Linked DNA regions of Homo sapiens: region 1 is linked to region 2. The links are contacts of gene promoters, found by promoter capture Hi-C in human tissues and cell types (Jung and others, 2019). All regions are on one chromosome and are shown on one strand. Each heading gives the region's core, a stretch centred on a gene start or on the middle of the fragment in contact. The rest is flanking DNA. Distances are from core to core; before and after follow the strand shown.

The links. The method cuts DNA at HindIII sites, captures the fragments that hold promoters and counts their contacts. A contact is called where the count stands out against the background at its distance.
Region 1: a fragment that was not itself captured here is called in contact with the fragment with the promoter of PDZRN4 in region 2 in 4 of the 25 tissues and cell types used here (H1 embryonic stem cells, aorta, hippocampus and 1 more).

The regions. Positions count from the first base shown.
Region 1 is chr12:41,149,643-41,152,632 of GRCh38, forward strand. No RefSeq gene overlaps it. Among named protein-coding and RNA genes, the nearest start is that of PDZRN4, 37 kb to the right of the region's middle. The HindIII fragment of the contact is 3,870 bases long and covers 1-2,990 here.
Region 2 is chr12:41,186,906-41,189,890 of GRCh38, forward strand. It overlaps PDZRN4 (PDZ domain containing ring finger 4), which reads left to right and starts at 1,415. Exons shown (of 10, transcript NM_001164595.2): 1 at 1,415-2,198. The coding sequence starts at 1,551. It overlaps LOC124903069 (a long non-coding RNA gene), which reads right to left and starts at 1,327. Exons shown (of 2, transcript XR_007063563.1): 1 at 896-1,327; 2 at 1-425. The HindIII fragment of the contact is 4,288 bases long and covers 708-2,985 here.

The DNA.
Region 1 (2,990 bases), core at 70-2,569, 37 kb before region 2:
ATTATAGAGTAGTTGCCTAAATTATAAGTAACTTCCCTAAGATCACACCATAGTAAGTAGCAGGGGTAAAATCTGAACCTAAGTCTAAGGCAGATCTAGGTTTTGTGGGACCTAAGCTTACACAATAGGTAGGGGGAGAGCAAAAGACAACAGAACATGAAATGCATTGCCTTGTGCTAGTGAGAGGCCCTCAAGCTTAAGCTTTATCTGGTTAGCTCCTGCCTGAGCGTCCCTGACGTCCAAGCATTTTATTTTTCCAGGCATTAGACAAGTAATACAAGTTAGTTATAGAAAAATAATAAAATGCACTCATCATTTTTATTTATTTAATTTATTTATTTATTTTGAGACAGAATCTCCCTCTGTCGCCCAGGCTGGAGTGCAGTGGCACAATCTTGGATCACTGCAACCTCCACCTTCCGGGTTCAAGCGATTCTCATGCCTCAGCCTCCCAAAGAGCTGGGATTACAGGTGCCTGCTACCATGATTGGCTAATTTTTGTATTTTGTATTTTAGTAGAGGCTGGGTTTTTTCATGTTGGCCACGCTAGTCTTGAACTCCTGACCTCAGGTGATCCACCCCCCTTGGCATCCCAAATTGCTGGGATTACAGGTGTGAGCCACTGTGCCCAGTCTACACTCATTTAAAAATCACTCAACATTCTGCCAGCCAGAGTTAATTGCTGTTAAGTACAGATTGTATACATCCTTGAAGAGATCTTCCTATACATTTTATATCTTGTTTCTTTTTCATTTAATATATTATTGACATTGAAAACATAAGCCACAACACAACAGTTTCCTGTTTATAAATATGTAGTGGCTTCTATATCAATTTTTATTAGTTTTTTTGTATCAAAATAACATGTTATTAATTTAAAAATAAAATATTGCTGTTAAGCTTACAGCTAATAACAGGAACCCCTGTAACTCCATCATCCAAACTCATACCCTAGAAGCAATCTTTTTCATCTCTAGCTATTTTTTCTTGCATTTCCTCTAAAATTTAAGATATTTATCTAATATTCTCTAAGATATTATCTACTGACCTTCTAATATGGAATACATGAACTTAATATTTTCCCATTTCTCTTAATTTTTTGTTCTTTCATTTTTCTAAACATTTTAGTTCTTAATATTCAGAAATTACCTTTTTATCATTATGCTAATGTCATTCATTGACAAATCAAGAGATACATATTTTCTTTCTTGTGCAACATATTTTCTTCTGGAATTAATAATGGTCATTATTTATTAGTTATCATTTATTCCTTTGTTACCAGTTCTTTCAAATACTCAGGCAGAACTCTGAACCCTTCTGAACACTACATTCTACATGGTCACACGTTAAATAAACTTTTCATTCCAGTTTGTTGTTGTTTTCAATAAAGACATTCCTGCTGGTCTTCCAAATATACTGCTGTTTTCTAGGCCTGCAACTCAGCTACCGACGTGAGATCTCCCTGGGCTCTTTTATGATGATTCCAGTTTTCTTTGCTCCAACATTTAATGTCCAAGTTGTTCTCTTTATTCACTCCCTCATTTTGGTGGAATATATCCTGATAATAGTTTCCAAAGCATGTGTATATGGAAGACAAATTATTTGTGAAATGTGAGTGCCTGAAATGTCTTTATTCTCATATGTGTTTAATAATGTCTGGCTACAGATTTGAAGCTCAGAAATAACTTTCCAACAGGATTTTGAAATCATTACTCTATGGCCTTTAAGCTTCCAACATTGATGAGGAACCCAAGGTCATGCTGATTCTCAATCTTATCTAGGTTACCAGCTTTTATTCCCCACTCCCCAGAAGATTTTAGGGTTCTTGTTTTCCCCTTAGTTTCCAATATTCCTAATGATGTGCCTGATGTCATCTTCCATTCATTGGTCAAAAATTCAATGATCTCTTCTAGTTTAGAGACTCACATGTGTCTATTCTAAGAATATTTCTTGTATTATTTCTTAGATAAGCCCATCTTCTTTGTTTTTTTTTTTCTGAAGCTCTAATTTTATTGAAATATTTTGTTTAAATAAAATATCAATATATTTAATCATGTATTTTGTTATTTATTCCATTTTTATCACTTCATTATTTTATTATTATTAAATAAATTGACTCCAATTTTGGTATTTGTTTTTAGCCACTGTATGGTTTCATATATTTCACTGAACTTAAGGCATAGTTTTCCTTTAAATATCTTGACTTTTTAAAAATTTCTTTTCTAACTTTTCAAGTTAGCATATTTGGGTTAGTGATGAATACGAAAGAACAAGTTGAACACAGGTTAGCAGGGAGAATGAGTAATGTTTGGCTACTTACATAAGTATTACAGCAAAACAAACTTGTGATGTCCTAAGCTCTTTTAACGTTGATGAGCTGCTGTGTTCTGACAACTGAATTAGTCATCTTTCGTGCTACATCATGGTGTGGAAGAATCCCATGAAAATGTGCATTATTCACTTATGGAATACCAAACATCCAGTCTTCTTTGTTCATGGTTAGCTTTACTTTTTTAACAGGAGAAAAATGATAATTTTTTGAAGATTTTTTTCTCTATTATGATATGTCACAATAGCCACCAAAGCAATGATTTTTTTTTCCTTTTGAAAGAATAAGATTGGTGAGCACTTTCAGAATGTTCTAGGTAACATGCAAACTCTCTCTCACATTTTTTTTTAAATATTTATCTCTCCAAAAATTGCTGCCAATTTTATTTAACAAATCTACTCATTCTGGTCTTTGTTCCCATTTCTCAAATGGTACCAATGACTTGACGCTTATTAATCCAATGTTAATTTTTATCTCACTCAAGCTGCCTTGATACTGTTAACTATTCATTAGCCACTGAGTGAATGAAATGAGTAATTTTCCTGCATCACTCAGTACTACATCCTTGGTCCTTTGCTTCTGACCCTAAGTCTAGTTGCTCAAGTTTGTACATGTTCATAATTTAAATTGCCATTTGCATGCTAACAACTACAATATTCAA
Region 2 (2,985 bases), core at 165-2,664:
ATGTTACTTTATCACATATGAATCTATATATATTAAATGAGAAATATAGCATCTTATTTTGAAAAAGAGTTTAAAAGCATATCAAACATCTAGCACACCAATCATCACTGGTTATTGAACAACTAACAAAATCTCATCTTTCAAACAGCAAGAAGGCTCAGAAGGTTATTAGCCTCTATTATTAGTCTTTGCTAATTCTTCAGTTAGCTCCAAGGATTTAAAAGACAAAGTCTGGAGCTGTTCTCATCAATTCCAACTGATGCCATTTGGTGTCATAGAGAATTACAAGCTTTCCAGGAACAAGGCTCAACTGGCAGCAAGGAATCATCAATGATTAATTTATAAAACCCACCCAAGCATCTGGTGGCAGCTTCAGGATAATGGCAGTAAGTGATATGCAGCCAGGTGACAGGATCTCTGCATTCCTAAGGTTCAGAAGATGGTAAAGGAAGTGGAGTAAGAAGGGTTTGGAATGACGCCCTACTGCGTGTTTTCAGGACGGCTTGTCATGCTACACAATTTGAGGAGTCAAACTAGGAGGGGAGGCAATTTGGATCCAAAGGGTTCATTCAGGGTAAGTAGAAGGAAGCAGCCACTAAGATTTTATTTATATGTTATTTCACTGCTTTCTTTCATCATCCTTCCCTTTAATTTTCCCTTCCAGGTTCCCAAATGATCACATTCCCGTCCCCAGTAGTAAAACGCCCGTGGAAGTAGAAGATGGATGCTGTGGCAACTGAACCTGGAGTCAGACTCAGAATCCCAGCTTCCTCACTCGGGAGGAGGCCTTGCATGGCTGTTCATGGGCTCCCTAAGAAGGCAGTGTCCTGAGGCGGGCCCTTGACTTTTTCCCCATCTTTGCTGCTAGGTCAAGGATCGCGCCATTCTAACTCACCTGATTTCTGGATCACGGTTTGAGAAGCCTGGCCCTGTGGATTTCCTAGTGTTATTTTCCTTATAGTGATTTCCTAAGGTCACAGTTTCCTAACTTCTGATTTTGTAGTTTTGATGTGAAAGAACAAAAGTGCTTCGATTTCAAACATATTGGAGATAGACTCGACGCCGGGCGGGCCATGGGCATTCAGCGGAAAACCAGACAGACAAAAAGATTCTGCTCTCCCGAAGCTTACATTGTGGTGAATTTAAAAGTTGTTTCTCAACATTAGCGCTTTACCCATCAGCAGCCCTGCCCAGGGCGAGGCGCCTCGATGCTTGAAGTTCACTGTTCAGGCGAAGGAGAACACAGTGTTCCCAAGGACCATTGTAAGCTGGGCGGCCAAAATTTGAAAGAACATAAATCGCAGGGCAACGAAGGAGGCGGGGGTCTCTGGAGGTTACTTCTATTAGCGTCAATACGGGCGAAATCAGGGGACCTAGCAGGAGCCTGAAAACTTCAAGCCAAACAAACAGTGAGATCACACCTCCCACCCGCCACCTCCCTCCACTGCCGCCGCCGCGAGACGGCTGCCCCGGGGGTGGCCCGGGGAAGGCAGGGGGGCTCGGAGAAGACGGACTCTGCTTTCGCTCCCCCTTTCTTCCCCATCCCTAACATGGGCTTTGCCCTGGAGCGCTTCGCAGAAGCCGTGGACCCGGCTCTGGAGTGCAAACTGTGCGGCCAGGTGCTTGAAGAGCCCCTGTGCACGCCGTGCGGGCACGTCTTCTGCGCCAGCTGCCTGTTGCCCTGGGCGGTGCGGAGGCGCCGGTGCCCGCTGCAGTGCCAGCCCTTGGCGCCCGGCGAGCTGTACCGGGTGCTGCCGCTGCGCAGCCTCATCCAGAAGCTGCGAGTCCAGTGCGACTACCGCGCCCGCGGCTGCGGCCACTCGGTCAGGCTGCACGAGCTGGAGGCGCACGTCGAGCACTGCGACTTCGGCCCTGCCCGCCGGCTCCGCAGCCGCGGGGGCTGCGCTTCGGGGCTGGGCGGTGGTGAGGTGCCCGCGCGGGGGGGCTGCGGTCCGACACCCAGGGCTGGCCGGGGCGGGGGCGCGCGCGGGGGGCCGCCGGGCGGCCGCTGGGGCCGCGGGCGGGGACCCGGGCCTCGGGTCCTCGCCTGGAGGCGGCGCGAGAAGGCGCTGCTGGCGCAGCTCTGGGCGCTGCAGGGCGAGGTGCAGCTCACGGCGCGCAGGTACCAGGAGAAGTTCACCCAATACATGGCTCACGTCCGCAACTTCGTCGGCGACCTCGGTGGCGGCCACCGCAGGGTAAGCAAAGGGGGGTGGGCACCGCGGGCATGGTCGATTGGGGTGGGAAAAGGAGCGGTTCTTTCTGACGCTTCAGGATTCCTTTGGAATTGGGCATCCTTCCTCACTATGCAGCAGGAAACATCCACACCCTGATCATACTTTCCTGTCATTATCTTACGAATGGATTGGCGTCGAAGTTAAGGATTGTCCCTTTTCTGATTATATTACGATTGGAAAGAGTTAAACAGATTCGATTCTAACTTTCCCCCGGGAAAGTAGGAATTGTGAAAACTCATTTTCCATCCAGACTCTCGTTTTCCATCTTTCACCCTCCTGCCCACCGTCTCTGCCTATTTTTTGAGCACTTGTCCCGTGCCTGAAGCAAATCCGAGAAGGAAAGACAGAAAGCGAAGACTTTCCCGGCCCAGCCTTTCCTCTCCCGCGGCCACCAGCATCCCCGCGGCCCTGGCAGCCGCGCACGCACACCTGGGACTGGTGTCAGCGTTGATGACACTTGCGCTGCCACTGCCTGAATCAACTGCCTTCTATTAAGTTGGGGACTGTGAGGCACGTTGGGGCCAGGACAGCCTCAGGAGTTGAGAGATGGGGTTTCTTAGACTTGCAGAGTTCATTTCATCACTCTGACTTTCCCTAAATAAGCCTTCCTTGCCTCGGGATCTCATTATTGGTGGAGAGAGAGAGAGAGATTGAGATTGTGTGTGTGCGACCTGGGAAGTCCAGTCCGAGAACCTCCATCTGTGGTCAGACCGGCCCTGCGAGCCCCCAGGCAGCGGTTGTTTCCCTT